Linked DNA regions of Homo sapiens: regions 1, 2, 3, 4, 5 and 6 are each linked to region 7. The links are contacts of gene promoters, found by promoter capture Hi-C in blood cells and fetal thymus (Javierre and others, 2016). All regions are on one chromosome and are shown on one strand. Each heading gives the region's core, a stretch centred on a gene start or on the middle of the fragment in contact. The rest is flanking DNA. Distances are from core to core; before and after follow the strand shown.

The links. Contacts are between HindIII fragments. The CHiCAGO score rates a contact against its expected background, and 5 or more counts as called.
Region 1: a fragment that was not itself captured here is called in contact with the fragment with the promoter of SPAG16 in region 7 in 6 of 17 cell types (naive CD4 T cells, total CD8 T cells, non-activated CD4 T cells and 3 more); the score reaches 15.5 in naive CD4 T cells.
Region 2: a contact is called between a fragment that was not itself captured here and the fragment with the promoter of SPAG16 in region 7, in 3 of 17 cell types (naive CD8 T cells, total CD4 T cells and naive CD4 T cells). The highest score is 12.9, in naive CD8 T cells.
Region 3: a fragment that was not itself captured here is called in contact with the fragment with the promoter of SPAG16 in region 7 in 2 of 17 cell types (total CD8 T cells and naive CD8 T cells); the score reaches 6.7 in total CD8 T cells.
Region 4: a fragment that was not itself captured here is called in contact with the fragment with the promoter of SPAG16 in region 7 in 1 of 17 cell types (naive CD8 T cells); the score reaches 6.7 in naive CD8 T cells.
Region 5: a contact is called between a fragment that was not itself captured here and the fragment with the promoter of SPAG16 in region 7, in 3 of 17 cell types (naive CD8 T cells, naive CD4 T cells and activated CD4 T cells). The highest score is 8.0, in naive CD8 T cells.
Region 6: a fragment that was not itself captured here is called in contact with the fragment with the promoter of SPAG16 in region 7 in 2 of 17 cell types (total CD8 T cells and total CD4 T cells); the score reaches 6.3 in total CD8 T cells.

What each region holds. Positions count from the first base shown.
Region 1 is chr2:216,120,119-216,123,233 of GRCh38, forward strand. It overlaps XRCC5 (X-ray repair cross complementing 5), which reads left to right. Exons shown (of 21, transcript NM_021141.4): 6 at 1,944-2,135. Among named protein-coding and RNA genes, the nearest start is that of XRCC5, 12 kb to the left of the region's middle. The HindIII fragment of the contact is 1,493 bases long and covers 951-2,443 here.
Region 2 is chr2:216,147,832-216,150,814 of GRCh38, forward strand. XRCC5 (X-ray repair cross complementing 5) reads left to right here. Exons shown (of 21, transcript NM_021141.4): 14 at 252-445. Among named protein-coding and RNA genes, the nearest start is that of XRCC5, 40 kb to the left of the region's middle. The HindIII fragment of the contact is 151 bases long and covers 1,300-1,450 here.
Region 3 is chr2:216,095,188-216,098,570 of GRCh38, forward strand. TMEM169 (transmembrane protein 169) reads left to right here. Exons shown (of 3, transcript NM_001142311.2): 2 at 651-1,047. The coding sequence starts at 777. Among named protein-coding and RNA genes, the nearest start is that of XRCC5, 12 kb to the right of the region's middle. The HindIII fragment of the contact is 5,460 bases long and covers 1-3,383 here.
Region 4 is chr2:210,471,160-210,474,574 of GRCh38, forward strand. LANCL1 (LanC like glutathione S-transferase 1) reads right to left here. Exons shown (of 10, transcript NM_006055.3): 3 at 800-917. Among named protein-coding and RNA genes, the nearest start is that of LANCL1, 3.9 kb to the right of the region's middle. The HindIII fragment of the contact is 4,098 bases long and covers 1-3,415 here.
Region 5 is chr2:216,187,357-216,190,526 of GRCh38, forward strand. It overlaps XRCC5 (X-ray repair cross complementing 5), which reads left to right. Exons shown (of 21, transcript NM_021141.4): 17 at 2,869-2,978. Among named protein-coding and RNA genes, the nearest start is that of LINC01963, 28 kb to the right of the region's middle. The HindIII fragment of the contact is 938 bases long and covers 878-1,815 here.
Region 6 is chr2:216,203,118-216,206,561 of GRCh38, forward strand. It overlaps XRCC5 (X-ray repair cross complementing 5), which reads left to right. Exons shown (of 21, transcript NM_021141.4): 20 at 1,205-1,279; 21 at 2,071-3,176. The coding sequence ends at 2,085. Among named protein-coding and RNA genes, the nearest start is that of LINC01963, 12 kb to the right of the region's middle. The HindIII fragment of the contact is 419 bases long and covers 1,404-1,822 here.
Region 7 is chr2:213,283,117-213,286,258 of GRCh38, forward strand. It overlaps SPAG16 (sperm associated antigen 16), which reads left to right and starts at 1,348. Exons shown (of 16, transcript NM_024532.5): 1 at 1,348-1,503. The coding sequence starts at 1,368. It overlaps SPAG16-DT (SPAG16 divergent transcript), which reads right to left and starts at 1,093. Exons shown (of 3, transcript NR_161186.1): 1 at 917-1,093. RefSeq lists enhancers at 1,381-1,510, 1,551-1,600, 1,671-1,750. The HindIII fragment of the contact is 3,357 bases long and covers 1-2,767 here.

The sequences.
Region 1 (3,115 bases), core at 447-2,946, 2.8 Mb after region 7:
AAAAAGAGTTCAGAATAACCCATCAAACCAATACTTGTTAAGATGGTACTTCAGAGAAATTAAGTGCTTTTAAGTGACACTTCTTACTGAGTTGAGGTTTTTCTCAGTACTTCAGAAGCCCAGCACAGCTTCTGGTCCTTTTTCATAATCTCAGGATGCCTTTACATGTTAGAAGCAGACTGCATTTCAGTGAATGTCATTCGAAAGAGCTACTCTTTTTTTCCATGAGCAATACAGAAAAGTGCAGAAGAGGAAGCATAGCCTTTGCTTCTATTTGCTTTTTATTTGGTTGTATTTTTTTCTTGGTAATATGCTTTCTTCCTGTGCTACAAACCTCCAGCATACAAAGTAGAGTTCATAGTTTTACTGTTTGGTGTATTCCATGTACAGCTGATTGTTGTAATTGGACTAAAAAAATACCAGCAGCTCAGAGAAGCCCTGTGTTCTGTTTTTAATTTATTTTTAATTTTTTTTTTTAGAAACGTCTTCTGTAGTGGCATAGTTATAGCTCACTGCAGCCTAAAACTCTTGGGTTCAAGTGAACCTCCTACCGGAGCCTTCTGTATAGCTGAGACTATAGATGCATGTTACCACACCCAGCAGTTTTTAGTTTTTCTTGGTTGTTGTTTGTTTTTGAGATGGAGTCTCGCACTGTTGCCCAGGCTGGAGTGCAGTGGTGCAATCTCGGCTCACTGCAACCTCCGCCTCCCAGGCTCAAGCAGTTCTCCTATCTCAGCCTCCCTAGTAGCTGGGATTTCAGGTGTGTGCCACCACGCCCGGCTAATATTTGTATTTTTAGTAGAGATGGGGTTTTACCATGTTGGCCAGGCTGGTCTTGAACTCCGGACCTCAAGTGATCCACCTGCCTCGCCCTCCCAAAGTGCTGGGATTACAGGCGTGAGCCACTGTGCCTGGCACAGTTTTTAGTTTCTTCTACTGACTACTGAGGAAGCTTATTTCTGATCTAACGCAGAATAGACAGAACAGTTATTATTTCTTTTTCCAGGATAACTTCCTTTCTCTTCACTTTTACGACATTTGTCCTTTTCTGGTTATTGCTTTGAAAACAGGAGTAACCTGATGCAAACCCTGTGTCTCACACTTTCCTCCCTGGAAACTTTTTACCTGATAAATGCAGGACATGCAAATTACATCATGCTGTATTTGCTAAGTATATGAAGAAAAATTGTAAACAGCCTTATTTTAAGTGTAGCAAATAAAATGAGAAATCACCTTAAAAACAAATTTATTTCTCACAGTTCTGGAGGCCGGGAAGTCCAAGATCACAGCACTAACAGATTTGGTGTCTGCTGAGAGATCTTTGCTCTCAAGATGGTGCCTTATTGCTGTGTCATCCCATGTCAAAAGGGCTAACACTGTTCTCACGTGGTGGAAGGACATAAAAGGCAAAAATGGCAAAAAGCCTCTCCCTTCAACCATTTTTTTTAAGGTCGCTAATTCCATTTATGAGTTCCCCACCCTCAGGACTTCATTACCTCCTAAAGGGCCTCTGTCTTAATAGTATCATATTGGTGATTAGGTTTCAAAATAATGATTTTGGGGGACACGTGTAGACCATTACAGTGTGGAAGAGGCCAGTCGGAGAGAGTGAAGCCAGCATAAAGGCAAATGAAGGTAAAATAGAGACAGAGAGAGTAATCCTTGCCACAGTTGAGACCCTGGGTCTGGACTTCCTAAGGCCTTGTGCCACCCTGCCCTTTCAGTTACTTGGTTATGTAGTAGCCAGTGATTTTCCCCTTTTACAAACCAAAGAGGTTTCAGTCACTTGAAACTGGGAGAATATTGGCTAAGGTAGGTAAGAGTCGTTTGACAGATGAGAAATTTGAAACTTGAAAAGGTTGACTGATGTGCTCATTTTCTCATAGCTGATGAGTTACAGTTACAGGATTAGAACACTAACTACTGTTGATCTTTCTTAATAGCTTGCCTTTCTCACTTGGCAAGGAAGATGGAAGTGGGGACAGAGGAGATGGCCCCTTTCGCTTAGGTGGCCATGGGCCTTCCTTTCCACTAAAAGGAATTACCGAACAGCAAAAAGAAGGTCTTGAGATAGTGAAAATGGTGATGATATCTTTAGAAGGTGAAGATGGGTTGGATGAAATTTATTCATTCAGGTAAGAATTGAAAACATTGATGGGAATTTTTAATTGTACCCACGTAAATTTCTCTTTTGATTAGAGGTCTCCCAAATGTTTCCTTTTTCTGGGCCACTCTCTAATTAGTCATTGCTTAATATTCTGAGTTTTATTAAAGAAATAGTACACCCACCCTTAATCACCCTTTTTAAAGTTTGTGTTCTTGGCACATGTTTCTCATTTATTTCCAGGACCTGTGTCAGTGAAGTTCAGGAATATATAGATACCATGAGAAATTAACAAGTCAAATTGCAAAAGATGAAATAGTAGATTTCTTCATTATGCCAAGCTTGGGATACATTTTTTGGGCCCTTTTTTTTTTACACATCTACAAAAAACATTATTAATTATAGAAAGTGGTCTCAGATCTGAGATAGTCAGTATCTTCTTATCATCCTATTAAGGTTTTAGAAAGTAGCATACTATGGTATAGTGATTTTTTTTTTAAACTTTTGATCACAAAGCAGTTTGATTGAGTGAAAAAAAAAAAAACCTGCAATGTAAAGAGTTCATAGCCTACTTACTTTACGTGGGCGTTGGAAAGGCAAAATGATTTAAGAAAAGTGAATTCCTTGAAGTACCGTATAACAATAAAGCAAACTGCTTTTTCAACCATCCAGCTAGAGACTATGGAAGAGACCATCTCCTTTATCCATCTTATTCTTGGTTGGAATTGGACATACATGCATTTTGAGCAAAGAACCTAAGAAGAATCGGTGGCATCTAGAATAGTGTGTGTCCTATGGGGTTCAATTTGGTAAAAGTGGCAATAGAGTACTTTACATAGCAGTATGGCTTGGGTGGTTCAAATTCTCAGGGGTAATACTGCTTGATATTCTTGAATTATTTCCAGCTTATCAGTCTGTACACAAAATACTGGCTGTTTAAGCACATTGAAGTAGTGATTGAACAACTAGAATTTTTTTAAGTAGCTACAGTGTATATCTCCTTAATATTTT
Region 2 (2,983 bases), core at 125-2,624, 2.9 Mb after region 7:
GCTCCTTTCCAGGAGGTCCAGAGCAGAAGATACTGTTGCTAGGCTTGGATCTATTTTTACAATTGGTTTTAGGTATTGACCAATATCCTGCCAACAAAGGTGGTTCTAGGTGAATCCTCTTGATTGTTTTTTACATGTGGTATGAATCACTTAGCCCTCCCACACTAAAGATGGAGGATCCCTGATCAGAAAATATAAAGAAGCCATATATGTCTCCATCTGTGTTTTAAAATCCTTACTTTTTCCAACAGTGTCTGCTGCACAGAGCTTTACATCCCCGGGAGCCTCTACCCCCAATTCAGCAGCATATTTGGAATATGCTGAATCCTCCCGCTGAGGTGACAACAAAAAGTCAGATTCCTCTCTCTAAAATAAAGACCCTTTTTCCTCTGATTGAAGCCAAGAAAAAGGATCAAGTGACTGCTCAGGAAATTTTCCAAGACAAGTAAGTACTTGGTATAGTTGCATTTAACATTGGGGTACATAAGAGTTGTGGTCATTTTAGAGTGGCTCTGGAAGTGTCACATAGGGGTCTATGGAATTTAAAAGGTGAGAGGAAGAAGCCTTTTGCTATTTGGCCCTTATATTGAAATATTGATTTCTTATATCTGTCTGCTGTGATCATATTTTATCCTTGCTGTTCACTTTGGATTTAGAGCTACCTTCTGGGCTGATGACTTTTTGATCAGCATCAGATTCTTGGTGAATTATATATAATGTATAATTCAGATAAGTTTCTGAATATCTAAGGCTAAATGTCACCCTTTTTAAAGTAAAGTACTGAGAATGAGTGTGTTGAAGATCATAGGTTTTTTGGGTTGGGAGGAGATTAGATGTTGGGGATGTCAATGAGATTTTTGGAGGAAAAGTGGGAACAAGAGTGAAAAACTATCAATTCTTCAGCCGTTCTATTAGTGTATCAGTGATGTATTTGGTTGTGCTATTGGGGAGGTGTTTGTAGTTTTAAGTATTGCAAAATGCTTTTCATATACACTTAAATCAAGCTTACAACTGGCTATTAAGTTTTTTCCCTCTTCTGTTCACAATCTGTGTCAGCTTCCATTCAAAACAAAACAAAAATAAAACAAGAAGAAATTGTTGTTGCTTATCCAGAATTATTTGAGTATGTAAAATTGATTTTTACCAGGTTTAGGTCAACCAGTTATTGGTGACTTTTTTTTCTCAAGCTGGAATAATCTATACATTTCTTTTGGCTGTATTTTGAAATCTGATTTTAAACCATGAATCTTTTCCCCTTTTTTATTTGATTTTTCTCTCCACAACTATCTTTATTGACAAAGCTTCTTATTTATAAATACCCCAGTGGAGAAGTATTGAGTAATTTCCGGAAGTCTTCACAGGTTTCTATAAATCATTGATTTAGAGAATTACTGTCTAAATTGAATAGAAAGTTGTGCACATTCTGTGACTTTCTAAAGGTTAACATCCAAGCTTTGTCAGAATTGAAAAAAAAAATCATGTACTTGGTTCCGCCGCACCAACTGCCCGCCCCCCATAAGACCATCTCTCAAGGAAATTGATAGATTGTTTCTTGATAGATTTTATGATGTGCATTTCTTACACATCCTGGAGAGGTTTTCATTTCTGTTTAGTCTATCGTTCTACACAAGAAGACTGTCCCTAAAAATTCACTTTCCCCCTGCTATCCTTATCTACCTTCTGGATTTGTATTTTAAAACAGTTCAATAAAAGTCTGCAGCCTTTTCTTTCTATGACACCTTGCTGAAGTCTCACTGCAATCACAGGGCTATTCTCTCTCTGTGTGTTAAATCTCCAGTCCGTGATCTTGATTACCTTCTGGTGTTGTGGGAAAGAAATGGGCCATTTTCTGCTCTTCCCTTTGATTAAAATGTAAATTAGCTAGTTAAAAAAGCACACCACCCAGACCCAGAAGGATGCAGTTCTGTCGTTTGATCCCTGCTATGATCACACCTTTGGCTCTGGTCCTGCTGGGCACTCTTCTGGAAGCTTGGGTGTGCTGAGCTTCTTGTTCTTTGCTCCCATAATGGCTCGCAGCATAGCTAAGTTAATCTTGCAGGGGCCTGAGAAGTATCTTACTCACACACGCTTGCTCACGCTCCTATTCTCTCTCTCTTCTGAGAAAGCTTAGTTTTTAAGAATTGTGGAAATGATTCATTTAGCAAATATTGAGTACCACCTGTATTCAAGAAGAATGGTTCAGTCCTTTCTACAAGGTTCTAAAACCCCTCAATTTTGATGATAAAGCTCCAGTCAGTTCTAGAGGTAGTTTTTCCAAGGAAAGAAAAAATTGCCAACAATTCGCAATGTTTTTGTATATATTCATCATCTCTGGATCCAGGGTACATATTTCTAGTGGAGGGGAGAGGGGCTAAGATCAGGAGTGGACAAATGTCTGTTCAGGAAGTTTAATCATCTTAAGAGCTGGGAATCATTCCAGTTTTTTCACTTGATATGATTTTGGTGAAATAATTTTACCTTTATGAGATTTTCTTCACCTAAAGAAAAATCTCAAGAGATACTATAACAATGAACAAAGATATTAAAGCACTTTGAGCAACTGACATCCTTCACTTAACGACAGGGATACATTCTGAGAACCGTGTCATTAGGCAATTTCGTTGTGCGAATGTCACAGAGTGTACTTACACGAGCCCACATGGTAGAATCTACTACACATCTAGGCTATGTGGTATGGCCTTTTGTCCTCAAGGTACAAACCCGTGCAGTGTGTTACTATACTGAATACTGTAGGCATTTGTAACAAAGAGGTATTTGCATATATAAACGTATCTAATGATAGATGCCTAGGGAGGCTGAGGTGGGCAGATAACCGAGGTCAGGAGTTCGAGACAGTCTGGCCAACATTTTTAGTAGAGAATCCCCATCTCTACTAAAAATACAAAAATGAACTGGGCGTGGTGGTGTGTGCCTATAGTCCCAGCTACTTGTGAGGCTGAGACAGGAGAATCTCTTGAACCTG
Region 3 (3,383 bases), core at 502-3,001, 2.8 Mb after region 7:
AGCAATTTTCCTGCCTCAGCCTCCTAAGTAGCTGGGATTACAGGCACCCACCACTACAACCAGCTAATTTTTGTATTTTTAGTAGAGATGGGGTTTTGCCATGTTGGCCAGGCTGGTCTCAAACTCCTGACCTCAGGTGATCCACCCGCCTCGGCCTCTCAAAGTGCTGGGATTATATGCGTGAACCACTGTGCCCAGCCTACCTGTGGTTCTTAACTCTCACCTACTGGTAAGGCTTCCTCACCCAACTTCCTTATACTCTGCATGCTCCAACTAGAGGCTGATTTATACACAAAAATCGGTAACACAAGCAGACTATGCTAACTACTTATGTATATAAAATAAAGAAACAATAATTGTTGACTTTCATATGAATAAGGAAAATGCAAATTATGACAACAATGAGATATAGTATTCCTTCACATGGGTTTTGCCAAATATTATATGTTTGTATAAATGACAAAAATATTACTGTAGCAAAAGTTTATTCACTGTCTATTATAAGAGATTTAGATTGCATTCCCAAAATAAAGTATTGCAAGAAGTAAAGGGAGAGGAAGGCTTCTGCTAAGTTGAGGATCGTTTCCCACATTCCTGTCCATCTCACCCCATTTGCTTCCTGTTGATGGCTTTGCTTTCCTATCTTTCAGGTGGAATGCATCCTTGGGACATCTTTGCATAGCCCCATCTAGGAAGAAGTTCTGTGATGTGTGAACTGTGAGTTTACTCAAACAAGTCCAACTCTTTATAAGACATAGGTAGACGTCAGGTCTGGAATGGAAGAGCCAACAGCAGTAGAAGGCCAGGTCCAGCTTCCAAGCCCCCACCAGGGCTCTCTCAGGAAGGCTGTGGCTGCTGCCCTGGCGCTGGATGGGGAATCCACAATGGGGCACAGGAAAAAGAAGAGGAAAGAGTCACGCCCAGAATCCATCATCATCTACCGCTCAGACAATGAGAAAACAGATGAGGAGCCCGGAGAATCAGAAGGTGGAGATCAGCCTAAAGAGGAGGAGGGAGATGATTTCCTAGACTATCCTGTGGATGATGGTAAGTCTCTCTAGCCCACTTGTTTAAAGCCATGGGAAGGAAACCAAAAGGGCATCTTCCAGAACAGACAGGCATATGCTCACTGTCCTATTTCTTCTTGGTGATACATTTCTTCTTGCAATATTACCACCTTTTATTTATTTATTTTGAGACAGAGTCTTGTTCTGTCACCCAGGCTGGAGTGCAGTGGCATGATGTCGCCTCACTGCAACTTCCACCTTCTGGGTTCAAGTGACTTTCCTGCCTCAGCCTCCTGAGTAGCTGGGACTACAGGCATGTGCCACCATGCCGGGCTAGTTTTTGTATTTTTAGTAGAGACTGGGTTTCACCATGTTGTCCAGGTTGGTCTCGAACTCCTGGCCTCAAGTGATCCACCTGCCTCAGCCTCCCAAAGTGCTGGGATTATAGGCATGAGCCACTGACCTGGTGCAATATTACAGTCTTCATTCAACAAATGGTCAGTATTTACTGAGCACCTATTACATTTTTTTCTAGATGATACAGAAATCTCCACCCTTTCAGAATTCCTAATGAAATGGAAGAGGCTGATTTATACGCAAAAACTGGTAACACAAGCAGACTATGCTAACTACTTAATGTATGTAAAATAAACAATAATTGTTGACTTTCATATGAATAAAGAAAATTATGAGAAAATTTGCCAGAAGAAAATCATATGGCAAATTATGACAACAATGAGATATAGTATTCCTTCACATGTAGGCTTGCCAAAAATTGGGTAAAATGTGATTACATCAATATGAGCAAATGGATATACTTCATGCACCTTAGTGAAAGTGGAAGCCGCTTCAACCACTTTGTGGAGGAAACTTGTCAACGTTTATTAAATATTTAGTAAAATTCACAGTTCAAAACATGCATACCTCATGACCCAGAAATTCTCAATATCTACTCCATGAAACTTATGCCCATGTTATCCTTGTATAAGGAGGCATATATAAGAACATTTGTTGAAGCTAATGCAACCATGATGTGTTTGTATTAAGAATTATTGTGGAGGCTGGGCACGGTGGCTCACACCTATAATCCCAGCACTTTGTGAGGCCAAGGCAGGCAGATCACGTGGGGTCAGGACTTTGAGACCAACAACAGGAGTTTGAGACTGGCCAACATGGTGAAACCCCGTCTCTACTAAAAATACAAAAATTAGCAGGGTGTGCTGGGGCATGCCTGAGGTCCCAGCTACTTCAAAGGCCGAGGCACAAGAATTGCTTTAACCTGGGAGGTGGAGAATCTGTGTTTCTAGAATGCAGAGGTTGCAGCAAGTCGAAATCCTGCCACTGCACTCCAGCCTGGGTGACAGAGCAAGACAACATCTCGAAAAAATAATAATAATTATTATTATTGTGCAGCCGTAGAGAGATGAGGCAGATCTATTTGTGTAGATGGATAGATCTCTAAGACATATGCTCACAGTGAACAAGATAAGCAATTTCTCTGCTCTCCTGCAGTTGACCTTCAGGGAAAGACAGATAGTGAACAAGTCAACAAATAAAAGATACTTTCAGGTAGTAGTATGAGTTCTAAAGATGACAAAACCATGCTGATGGGAAGATGAGTACTGGTGGAGGGTGGAAGGTGGTGGGGGAGAGACTGCATGGTTGTGAAAGGCTTCTCTGAGGAGGTGACATTTGAATTGATCCAAATGACATGAGGGAGCCACCATGAAAAGTTCTAGGGCAGAGTTTTTGGAGGAGGTGGAACAGCAAGGGCAAAGCCTCTGAGGTGAGAGCAGCTTTGGCCCATTTATGGAAAGGAGTTATTTCAGTGTAGGGAGTGTAGGAGATAAGAGGGAGGATGGTGAGAGGAGGACAGGAAGGTAGGCAGAGGCTGGATCATGGTGGCCCTTGCAGGTCTCGGTAAAGAGTTTGATATTTGTTTCAAGTGCAAGAGGAAGTCAATGGAGGACTTTTAAGCAAAGAGACATCATCTTGTTTATATTTGTAAAAGATCACTCTGGCTTCTCTATAAAGAATGAATTATAAGGGTTAAGACTGGATGCTGATGGGAGACTATTGTGTCCCTGCAGCCTCAGTAGCACTAATGGAGAAGTTCGGGTGATAGCAGGAGAAAGCTGGAGAAGAGAAGCTGGATTCAGGATGCAATCTGAACTTGCTGATTGATCAGAGGCAGGGAGTGAGGGAAAGAGAGGAATCAATAATGACTCCTGGGTGATTGACTGGAATGACAGGGAGGATAGATGGTGGTGGTGTTTGCTGTGATGAAGACTGTGAAAAGACAGGGCTTGGGAGACTGCACATTCCTTTTCTCTGGGTAAACAGAGTCCCTGCCACTATCCAGGGCCCTGCTCTTTA
Region 4 (3,415 bases), core at 541-3,040, 2.8 Mb before region 7:
CCTCAGCCTCCTGAGTAGCTGGGACTACAGGTATGAGCCACCATGCCCAGCTAATTTTTGTAGTTTTAGTAAAGATGGGGTTGCACAGTGTTGGCCAGGATGGTCTTGATCTCTTGACCTCGTGATCCACCCGCCTCGGCCTCCCAAAGTGCTGGGATTACAGGTGTGAGCCACTGCGCCCAGCCTCTTCTTTGATTTTTCTCTTTCTCACCTTTTTTTGACATCAATGCACTGTTTCTTCCTAAACCTCCTCCAGCCTCTCAATGATTGAGATTGGCAATGCAGCAATTGCAAACCAAACAGCAATGACCATATGGGAGGATTAGTTCATGGAAGTAATACTTTACCCTGTATGGATTCCTGTATGGATTCCTGTTACGGGTTAACTTTTTAAAACATGCTTCTGGACATATTTTATTCCTGAGATCAATCCTCATTACCTCCGCTTCAGGCATTGTATTTTGGAACTCTTCCCAATTCTTCCCACTGAAATTACATCTGCAAATTAACTATGTAATATTGAAAATCAATTTTTCTCCTCACAAGTATAGCAGCCATCCAAATGTCAGGCATGAATTACATGAATATGCTTACCATGCCCTAAATTCAGGGCACTATTAAAAACCCAGAAGATACCATGGTTGGTTGGGTTGAGGGCACAGCACTCTCCCAGAAGCAATTACTCATATGCAGATGCAGGAAGCATTTAAGGGTGTACCATTCAGACAGACAGCTCTCGGAAAAATGCTCTGGCTCTTAAGCACAATGCTTATGCCAGCTCACAGTCAGCACTTCATACCTGCCCAGCCAGTGTAACCGGTGCCATCCCGAGGGTCTGCTGATTTCAGGCCTCTCTCCATTTGCTGAAGAAGCTCCCGAATCTTATTGGTCAAGCGTTGTGAGAACTCAGGAGTCAGCTAGATATTAAAGGAAAACAAGTATCAAAATAATGTGGGTCACCCAGCTTGCTGGACTATAAGCTATCAAAGACAGAAAGGTATTTCTTTTCCACTTAGGACATATTTTTCCACCTGGAAGACTAAACAATTTATTTTCTATTCTTAAACAACAACATCACATTAACAAAATTTATAAAATACCGTTGTAACTTATACATGTTTTAAATAAAATTTTTAGTTAAATACTAAAACAGACTGCCAATGATAAACTGGCTCACAGTAATTTTCCACCTAATAGTAATCGTCTATTATTTAAACCAATATTATAATAAAGTCTTTTTATTAAATTAAGCACAAATCAGATGTTTGGTGCTTTCAAACTACTGGATTTTTAGTATTCAAGCTGCAGCAAGGTAAATTCCCTAAAGAAACATCTAATTGCTCTTATTTAAAAAAAAGGATTTAAAAAAAATGAAGTAGCCAAAGAAAAGCAAAACAAATTCATGTATATCAAGAGCCTTAAGCAGAATAGAAAGAATATCAAACTTAGCATCATAAACCCACGTCCAGCACAGTGTCTGGCAGAGAATACGGGCTTCACAAATGTTTCTCAATGAATGAGCCTGTCTACATCCTTACCCGCTATTAGCTGATCTTGCTCAACTCATAACTTCTTTATGTTTCAAATACCTCCATAAAGTCAGGATAATAATAACTGCCACGCCAATTTCAAAAGGTACTTTGGGGATTAAATGAGATAGTGTATCACAAGTCTTTCTCATTCAGGGATGTAAATGTTGACATTTTTACTAATTCTTTAGCAGATCAAGGGTCTAAGGCAAGTAATAGTTTAGATATGGATTGAAAATACACTAAGGCTGGGGCTGTGGGGTTAGTACCACCCATATGAAGGTCCACAGATGCTGTGCAAACAGTGAGGCTCACACAATCATTACGTTATTCTTCTTAAAGGCAAATGAAAAATAATTTTAAACTTCTGCACACACTGAATCAGTGTCTTAAAAAGTCACTGAAGGCCGGGCACAGTGGCTAATGCCTGTAATCCTAGCATTTTGGGAGGCCGAGGTGGGCGGATAACCTGAGGTTAGGAGTTCGAGACCAGTCTGACCAACATGGAGAAACCCCATCTCTACTAAAAATACAAAATTAGTCGGGCATGGTGGTGAACGCCTGTAATCCCAGCTATTCGGAAGCCTGAGGCAGGAGAATTCCTTGAACCTGGGAGATGGAGGTTGTGGTGAGCCGAGATCGTGCCACTGCACTCCAGCCTGGGCAACAAGAGCGAAACTCCATCTCAAACAACAACAACAACAACAACAAAAACCCAAAAAACTCACTTTATTGTCTCCCTCAATAATTTTAAGAACTTGCTGTGATTCTAAGACTTGAATTTCACATAGTAATTAAAATTTCAGAACAATGTGGGGGAAAGTTACAAGGGTATAAACATTTTATTTTACCATGTAAGGATTGTAGAAATAAACCTAACCACTCACATCAGAATCTCATTTTTAAAAATGAGATAAAATCTTAACACTGAAAACAGCAAGAAGGCAGTATCAGAATTAACAACAACAACAATAGTTTAAGGATACGTTAAGATTCACTTCGGAGGAGCATCCTTGATAAGGCAAATCAGACTTTCAACCACATCTGGATTATTTAATCTAAAGCACCACTATGATCCCTTATTTCACTCTTTAGAAGAAACGACGTTGTTTGACAGACACACTCCCATTATTTAACAATTTCTGCAAAGAGGTTAAGATTTCAACTAGACTTGAAAATACATTTAGTAGGATAAAATATACTTCAATGTTAATACAAAAGGCCTATAAATCTCAGCTAGATAGAAGAGTGCATCTATATTGAGAACACGTCATCTACTGTATATAGATCATATATAATTTATCATCTTGCCTGGCCTTCAAGAGATCAAGAATAATGAGAATCTCTCAGCCTTATGAAGGGAAGTTACTTTCTGTTTGGCACATTCTGCATTTAATAAAGGTGACCTCTGTGAGAATATTGATTGCTTGTGGTACACCACCAAATCATTCAAACTCTAGCTATAATCTGAAGTCTCTAAAAGTCCTTTTTTCTTTTCTATTTTTTTCTGACAGATGCCAGAAAACAGACCAGTTCCTTACTGAAATCTTGTGTTAAGAAATTAAGGAGGACAGATCTCCAGGGTTTGATCCTCCGTGTTCAACATTACACAATTTTAGAACTGGTATGCTACTTCCTTTCTAGGACCTGTCCAAAAACTACGTTAGGCAATAAACTACATTATTACTCTTGGGTCAGGGTTTAAATTTGTGAATTTTTCCCCTTAGAAACAAAGGGTTAAATTTGGCCCGACATGGTGGCTCACACCTGTAATCCCGGCACTTTGGGAGGCTGAGATGGGTGGATCACTTGAGGTCAGGAGTTCGACACCAGCCTGGCCAACATGGTGAAACCCTGCCTCTACTAAAAATACAAAAAAAAAAAAA
Region 5 (3,170 bases), core at 97-2,596, 2.9 Mb after region 7:
GAATTTATGGTAGACTGGACTGCCTTCTTTCCTGTATCGTTGCAAATGGATTGTTGGCTTGGGTATTTATTTTTGTTTCTTTTGAATATTTTTCTCTGTAAGATAGCAACTGTGTGTGTGTGTGTGTGTGTGTGTGTGTGTGTGTGTGTGTGTGTGTGTGTGTGTTCTATCATATTTCAGGATAAAATGAGTCAGGAAGCTGGTTGTTTTGGTTTTTTGTTTTGCTTTGTTTTTTCGCAAAGCAATTTAGTACCTGTGTAGTTGTTTCATGGGCTCCCAGCTCTTAGGATTCCCTACGTTTCTATCCTTAATTGCCTATGCTCTTTTTACTCTTTTCCGTGTAGTCTTTATGCAGTAGTTTGGACACAGCAGACAACTCTTTCCTTTAAATAATCTCTTCTCTTAGTATCTGTGATGCCATGAACTCCTGACACACACACACACACACACACACACACACACACACTCTCTCTCTCTCTCTCTCTCTCTCTCTCTCTCTCTCTCTCCCCGTCTCCCTGTCTCTCCCTCTCTCTCTCTCTGACTAATCCTTCTTAGCCTCCTTCTTCAGCTCCCTTTCCACTATCCAACCGCTAAAATTTCTTCTTTCTTCTACACTTTCTAAGGAGCCACGCTGTACCCCTACCTCAGGACTCTCACACACACTTTCTCTTCTTGGAACTCCCTTTCCTCCAGCCATTTGCTGTCTAATCCTCACTCTTTTTTCTTCCCCTATTTCTGTCCATGTATGAGGCCATTTGCTTTTCTCCAAACACAGCTTGTGCTTTCTTCTTCATACTTAGGCTAATTGTGTTTCCTGCTGTGTAATTGCCAAATTCTGTTTTTCATTGCCTAGCTAAAAAGCCATGTTGATTTGTGAAGCTTTCTGTAATCACCAAAGATTTTTTAAAAATTCAAACCAATTAATATATTTCCTTAAAACTCATAGCCCTCTTCACATTATTTCCCAGTGTTAATTTTATGTATATGCATTATATTCCCTATTCAACTGCAAACTCCTCAAAGGCAAGGGCCTTGTCTTCAACTTAATTCTGTCTCCCACAGAACATAACATAGTATCTTCTACATAGTAGTTGCACAATAAGTATATACTATCAAACAAAGAGAAACATTTATATTATAGCTTCCTAAGATTTCCTATTCTCATTTCAAAAGAAATGGAGAATTTAGAGTCTCTAGGATTATTGCCCTTGGCCTGTAAAGGTTTTTATTTGTGCCCAAATATGTAACCTCGAGTGAACTTTGTATCAGATGATCTGGGAAAGTACACCGCTTTCTGTTATCAAACATTTCTGTTACTTTGCTTTTCAAGCTGAAAAGGGGAGATAACTTCTGTTTGCTTTGAGCTTTTGTTGATGGTTTTCTGCTCTGCCTACTAATCAGGGTTGTATTATTTACCTTGTTTAAAAAGGTTCATCTGAACATTCTCTCTCTATTTTGAATTGTAATTGGATATTAATTCACTGCTGCGGGATACGTTGGTAAAGATTTTTGAAATTGCAGGGAAATGTTTCTTTAATCCCTCAAGTTTGTTAAGTGCTTTCTTATAATGGAGATCATAATCTCCGAGTTGGTAGAAGGGATGAAACGGTTACTGGGGATATTTTTCCCTTGTTAGAAAATTGCTGTATTAAAAAATACTTCATCCAGTTTTTTAATCCTTTCCACATGCTGTATGGTCCTTAGGAAATAAGTAGATTCTTAGCACCGATTTCATGTTTTTAATAAGGAAGGCATTGAGTAATGTTCAGGTCACTGTGATTCACAGAGTTAGTGGCCTGGGGCCTTTATTGGTAAAGCTTGAAAGTAGTTTTCTTTAGCATTGTGCATACACAGGTAGCTGCTAGAATGCTCACAGGAGGCTGTGATTTGGGGAAACAGGCAGTCATAGAATATCTTGAACATTCAGCATAAATTGCCAAACAGCCACAGCTAGTGAATGGTTTCAGGGGACAAGGGAGAGGAGCCTTTAGGCATGATTACCCACATCTCCCTGATTTGTTCTTCCACACACAGATCTTAAGGGTCAGTTTTGATCTGCACAGCATTAAGTTTCCTCATGACTTTTAGATTTCCTTTTTCCTCTGCTTTTTATTCATACTGAAGAATTTTTTGTTTCTTTGTAAGGTGTAATCTACTTTGGAAATGATAACACTATGAATGCATTTTCTCTTTCTGTAGCATTTATGACATTGCTTGCTGACAGTTACTGTTTATTAAGTATTTGTGGCTTTTGGAGTAGTGAGCAATAGGGAGAATATTCAGGTCCAGCTAAGGGCATAAGGTAGATAGCAATGATTTCTCATTCGAAAGGGATATTTTGTTAAGACTAGGGCTGATCTTTTCTAATTTAACCTTGGATTGGTAGAAGATGGGGTGTCCCTGGCTCATTATTTTTCACTGCCCAGCACTGTTCGACAATTATCCTGAGTAGAATTAGGGGAGGGACTAGAGGATCTGTTTTCTGTGAATACAATAGGAAAGGCAGTTTTGAATTATCCAAATGGCCCCTAAATTCTGGGGGAAAATAAAATAACAACAACAGCAGTTTTAAAAATAACTACAACCTAGGTTCTGACATCCCAAAAAGGAATATTTCAACTATAATTCTCAGCATTTTAGAAATTAATTTCTTGACAAATATCAATAGGTATCATTCAGACTTTGCAAATACAGAGTTTTGAAATCAGAATTTTGCATCTCATCTCTCCCCTAAAAGAAGTATGGCAATTGTGCTTGCTGACCATGAGGCTTGTGAACTATAATACATACTTATAGGCACAAACACAGAAGCATACCCTCTCTCAGGCATCACTCAAATCTAAGAAAATTTGTTGTCTTATGTTTTAGCGAGTAACCAGCTCATAAATCACATCGAACAGTTTTTGGATACTAATGAAACACCGTATTTTATGAAGAGCATAGACTGCATCCGAGCCTTCCGGGAAGAAGCCATTAAGGTAATGCTATCCTAGCATCTCTTTTCTTCCTAAACAGTTGGCGACTATCACAGGGAAAGAGGCATACAGCATCCTGGAAATGAGTCTGGGCCGTGGAAATTATCATTCTCAATATGAATAGCAGTGTATGCCAGTGGAGCTAAAAATGACTTAAATTCATGTTACTATCACTGTCATTTCTGAGATGGGATA
Region 6 (3,444 bases), core at 363-2,862, 2.9 Mb after region 7:
TATACTTTTTCCTCTTGGGTGGAAGCAACTACAGGAGAGCATAAGTGGGCTGGAAGGCTCTCTCACCGCGTGCCTGCTCCATGCACTCTCAGCCTGAAGAATGCCAGAATGCCTCTAGGGGCCAGTCAGTTGTGGTACCATAACTGATTCTCTATTTACTGTTTCTGGCCCCCAAAGGAAAAGTAGAAGTGCCCCACTTTCCACTGCCCTCTCTAAAACACTCACTCCTACAGGCAGGCATGCTACCAGAAAATCACCTTCTCGTGTTAGGATAGATAGGCATTGCTAGATAGATATGCATTGCTAGAACCCAGCTCTTAGAGGCAGCTGCCACATGCCTTGAAGGAAAAGGCTCCCCACTGCTATCCCTTGGAGGGACAGGATGGAAAAAGAGTGTTCAGATAATTTTCAAGGGCACTCACCTCACTACCCTTTTAAAATCTGAGTGTCATTCCTAGATCCTCACAGACTTCACTTCCTGGACTTTGCTGTATTACTATGTATCTGCCTTTCAGAAGCTCCAGATCTAGAACAGTGATGCTGAATGGTTTTCTCATCCATTTCTCATCTGCCTGTTTTCAAACAATTTCTAACACAAATTGAAAGATTTCCATAAAAGGAATCAAACAACCTTCCAAGCTCACTCATTTTTGCATTTCACGTTTCTTATGAGAAGTCCCCCTTTTACTGCTTTTGTCCACAGTGGAATTTAAGAGTAGATTATTCTAAGCTTTTTTTTTTTTTTTTTCCTGATTCTTCATCATTCAACTTGAGATTATTCTAATCTTGATTTGATTCTCATGCTCCTTTCAAAAGAGCATACTAGTTTGGGGTGGTTGGTTATTTTCTTAACCTTAGCAAGCCAGCTTATTTCCTATGGAAGCAGAACTGGAAACAGCAGATGTCCACCATGCTTATACAGGACACTACACACTGTCTCGACAAGCCATGTTCTTTCCTCCCTCTTCGTGAGCACTTTCTCTGGTGATGAGTTAGTATGGACTACTTGAACCTCAAAACTGGGCCTCTCACCCAAAGCCAAATGAAGTAGCGTATGCCAGGATGATGTTTCTTTTGGGCCGTTGGCAGTGAGACTGCTAAGCAGGCTGCCTTAGGTTTTGCTGTGGCAATGCTAGCAGATTGTTCCCTCTTTCAAAGGGGCAAAAATATCATTTTGGTATGATAACTGACTTTCTATTTACAGTTTCTGGCCCCCAAAGACAAACCAAGTGGAGACACAGCAGCTGTATTTGAAGAAGGTGGTGATGTGGACGATTTAGTAAGTACTTTTAATATGCACCTGGTGTTCTATGATTGAAGTCACCTGAGCTGTAAATACAGCCACAAAGGCTGATTATCTTACACTTGTTGCTTATTTGTGTTTTAATTTCCAATACACCAGAAGCTTCCTACACCATTATATATTGCCATTATAAATTCAATCAGATAGGTAATTTCATAATAGAAATTCCTGTGTTTCATGGTGTCGGCTATATTGTTCATTCAGATTAATCCTCTCCCTTGAAGGGCTGAAAAAGAGCTAGGGAGGCTATTCCATTAGTAGCAAAATGTTGTAATTCACTGAAATTGCTGTTAACCAAAAATAAGTAATACAACATGCAGTTTGTGTGGGTTGACAAATGAAACAGCCCTTAAAAGGGCTACTTCTTAAATGTTCTCAATTAACTTAATGTAAACAAAATAGACCGATAGGCATTTGAGGATTTCTGGACCCCATTACACCATGTTGTTGATGTCTGGGAAGCTGTGTAGTAAATGTCTTTTGTATCTATCCTTAATGTTTGGAAACTTCCCGCCTTTAAGCTTCATATGACAACTGACCAACAAACACTACGTACTATGATGTCAATCTTTTTTAGAGACATTCTCATTACTAAAATGAGTGGATACTTGAATGTTTAACTCCTAAAATAATGAGCGGTGAATAAATGAGCAAGTACATGCATGCCTTCCAATGTAGAGTCATTTTCATTAAACCCTCTCTCACCAGAGAAGCAGTGGTATGAAATTGGCCTGATTCCTTTCTAAGTGTGTTGTTCTTGTTCACAGTTGGACATGATATAGGTCGTGGATGTATGGGGAATCTAAGAGAGCTGCCATCGCTGTGATGCTGGGAGTTCTAACAAAACAAGTTGGATGCGGCCATTCAAGGGGAGCCAAAATCTCAAGAAATTCCCAGCAGGTTACCTGGAGGCGGATCATCTAATTCTCTGTGGAATGAATACACACATATATATTACAAGGGATAATTTAGACCCCATACAAGTTTATAAAGAGTCATTGTTATTTTCTGGTTGGTGTATTATTTTTTCTGTGGTCTTACTGATCTTTGTATATTACATACATGCTTTGAAGTTTCTGGAAAGTAGATCTTTTCTTGACCTAGTATATCAGTGACAGTTGCAGCCCTTGTGATGTGATTAGTGTCTCATGTGGAACCATGGCATGGTTATTGATGAGTTTCTTAACCCTTTCCAGAGTCCTCCTTTGCCTGATCCTCCAACAGCTGTCACAACTTGTGTTGAGCAAGCAGTAGCATTTGCTTCCTCCCAACAAGCAGCTGGGTTAGGAAAACCATGGGTAAGGACGGACTCACTTCTCTTTTTAGTTGAGGCCTTCTAGTTACCACATTACTCTGCCTCTGTATATAGGTGGTTTTCTTTAAGTGGGGTGGGAAGGGGAGCACAATTTCCCTTCATACTCCTTTTAAGCAGTGAGTTATGGTGGTGGTCTCATGAAGAAAAGACCTTTTGGCCCAATCTCTGCCATATCAGTGAACCTTTAGAAACTCAAAAACTGAGAAATTTACTACAGTAGTTAGAATTATATCACTTCACTGTTCTCTACTTGCAAGCCTCAAAGAGAGAAAGTTTCGTTATATTAAAACACTTAGGTAACTTTTCGGTCTTTCCCATTTCTACCTAAGTCAGCTTTCATCTTTGTGGATGGTGTCTCCTTTACTAAATAAGAAAATAACAAAGCCCTTATTCTCTTTTTTTCTTGTCCTCATTCTTGCCTTGAGTTCCAGTTCCTCTTTGGTGTACAGACTTCTTGGTACCCAGTCACCTCTGTCTTCAGCACCCTCATAAGTCGTCACTAATACACAGTTTTGTACATGTAACATTAAAGGCATAAATGACTCATCTCTCTGTGAATTGCTGCTAATTATTGTCTGCAAAAGACTTCTTCAGTGCTCTGCTGAGAATTGAACACCCTTATCCATTGATTGAAAATGGATCTGCAAGATAGAACATCATTCATTTAGCTGAGGAGAGAAAGGAGTGCTTTACTTTGGGCTTCTAGGACATCCTCTCAATACTATACACACTTGCATCAAACTTGACATACAGGTGCTCATTTAAAGTAACCCCAACAGAGGATGACATATAGTTTCTGGTTAGATAGTTAAAGCCCAGGGGTTGT
Region 7 (3,142 bases), core at 98-2,597:
CCCATTACTGGGTATATACCCAAAGAAACAGAAATTGTTCTACCATAAAAACACATGTACATGCGTGTTCATTGATATTCATGATAAAGACATGGATTCAACCTAAATGCCCATCAACGGACTGGATAAAGAAAATGTGGTACACATATACCATGGAATACTATGCAGCCACAGAAGAATGAGATCATGTCCTCTCAGGGACATGAATGCAGCTGGAGGCCATTATCCTTAGCAAACTAATGCAGGAACAGAAAACCAAATACTGCATGTTCTTAGTTGTAAGTGGGAGCTAAATAATGAGAACAAATGGACACAAAGAAGGAACAACAGACACTGGGGCCTACTTGAGGAGGAGAGTGGGAGGAGGGAGAAGATCAGAAAAAATAACTATTGGGTACTACACTTAGTACCTGGGTGACGAAATAAGTTATATACCAAACCCCTGCGACATGAGCTTACCTGCACTTGTACCCCTGAACCTAAAATAAAAGTTAAGGGAAAAAAAAATATTTGCAAAGAAAAGGGCCTTGAATTTGCTTCTGATACATACGCGATATAACCTGAGGAAGATCCTCTCAGCAATAAGACTATACATGATGGGGCAAGTGTCAACTGCATACATTTGTCAGGACCAAATTTGTAGCTCATAATTTTTATGCAACTGTTTTTACCTTGGCGAGAATCAATGCTACAAATACTATTCCAAGTCTTAGTATATGGAACCAAACTCAAAACAGATGTCCAGCTAAATGCATTAAAGATCACAAGAAAGGAATTGACAAAGCTGAACACCATAGTTCTTCATTGCTAAGCATCTGAGGAGCGTCTGGTAGCTCCCCTGGGTCAGTCTTTCTATTATGATTTCTAGAACTTTATTTTTTCATTTTTTAAAAAATTCCAGGTGTTGAGAACTCACCTTTTCTAGTAGTTTTCCCTGGGAACACTTGGGGATCTACAAACATCTGAAATTGGAGGATGCTAATGGGCAAGAATCAAGAGAAAGGTAATTCAGAGACGACAACGAAGTGGGAAAGAAATTACAGGGTCAAAGCGAAAGAAAACCAAGCTGCTTGGGTAGGAAGGTGCAATGCAAGCCAATTGTTTACTGTATCTTGTCCGCTCCCAGAGCTGCGCCCGAGCTCTCGCGTTAACTAGGCAACATCGTTGCCACGGTAACTGGGAGGCGCGGGAGGGCGACAGCTCCCTGGACTCCCGGTAACCCTTACGTGCCCGGGGCTGGTCCGTGGGGCGGGGTGAGAGATGCCGGAATCTCGCGAGAGCTCCCGGGGGCCGTTGGGTAGCGTCTTCGCTGTTGCCCTTAGGGACGGCTGTGGGCCTGCTGGGGGTGGGGGCCCGAAGCGCCAGAGATGGCTGCTCAGCGAGGGATGCCCAGCTCCGCCGTGAGGGTCCTGGAAGAGGCGTTGGGCATGGGTTTGACGGCAGCCGGGGACGCGAGGGACACGGCGGACGCGGTGGCGGCTGAGGGCGCCTACTACCTGGAACGTATCCTTCCCGTGGAGGCGCGGCCCGCTGCGCTGGCGGGTAATGGGTGTTGGGACGAAGGCGAGGGCCTCCCACTGGCGGCGCCTTTTGAGCCTTGGGGCCACTCCGGAGGAGCCTCTGTTGGACTTCAAGGTGCTGTTTTTGCCACCACAGTCTTCCTGAGAGCCACTCACTGAATTTCTCGCCCTTAGTAGCCCAGGGTGTCCTGTACCTGTTAGAAGAGTTGGGAGACCTTCCAAGGCCTCATACTTAGTAACCACTCAGTACATTTTGGATGGAGGGTTGCTTTTTATGTTAAGACAGCACAACAAATTGCTTCAACCCTCCTTTCAAATAATGGGTTTCCTAAATAAGCCCTCAATCTTTCAGAAAGCCGTCCCAATAAATTCAACGGAGGAACGTTAGGAGACTAGGGAAAGACCTCTGCCATTGGACTTTAAGGAGCTGAAGCTCAGAATACCCAACCCACGATCCTGTTCGATGGTCCAGTTAATGCTTAAATGCTTAGTTTTGATAGCATTATCTTCCTGAGTAGTTCCAAGTTTGACTACTTAATAATAAATACTAATAGTATAGTTGCTTTTTTTTCTTGAGCAAATAAATAATGATCTGGTGAGCTACACAGCTCAGAGATATTAGGAATAAAGCAGATGGTGATTAGCGATTTTTATCGGAAGTACCAGAAAAATTGAATAACAATGTGTGGATAATTAGGTCCACTATTTCTTGTGTAAGGCTTTAGAACTTCTTTCCTCTAGTTATATAGATTAATTCCTACTAGGGAGACGGGGAGGGTTCATGAGAAAAAGACATGTAACTCCTTTATTCAGGGAGGTAAGAAAGAGATGATTATCTGTTCAGTTCTTAAAGATACCAAGGAAACTCCAAAATCTGCCAAATCTTATTTGTTTGTCCAACTGTAATCCTCTCCAGGTTTAATTCAAGATTTCAGAAATCCAGCAATGATTCATTTCGTGAGCTTTGACAAGCCGATTAACCTGTCCTGACTCAGGCTCAGTACACATCCACACTACAGAGAGCTTTGAAGAATTTAGCTGAAAGATTAAAGAAAATATGTAGTATTTTATTGGGTGCAAAAACGACTTTTACAGGAATAGAAATTTGAATCGCTTGAAATGAATTTGAAAGAAATATATGGGTGCTTTAGTGTCATAAATGAGGTTTTATACTGTTTTCGTAGATGTAACAGGCAGTCTTTTCCAGTGATATTCCTCTTTAACAACGATTTTCATAATTCTTCCTAAGCTTATCTATATCCAGTGCCCTTGCTACTGAATGGTAACCAGGCATCTTGTAATTTTGTTTGCATTAAAATTATTTCCGTGAACACATAGTTTAATTGTTAACATGAGATTGACACAATGAGGTAACTTTTTGCAAACATCTTTGTGAAATAAATGGTAGGAGTCTAACATAACACAACTTTCAGCAATGAAAATCAGGTTTACTTAATGTGCAGGGAGATCACTGAGTCACACCTGCCAAGATGTAGCAGTTTGCAAACCTGTCTTACAAAGACTTTTTCAAATAATCACACTTATTTGAACTTTAACACATATAAGCAACTGTAACTTTTTAGGATTTTACTAACCGTTGTGTGAATTATCCAACCCATTTG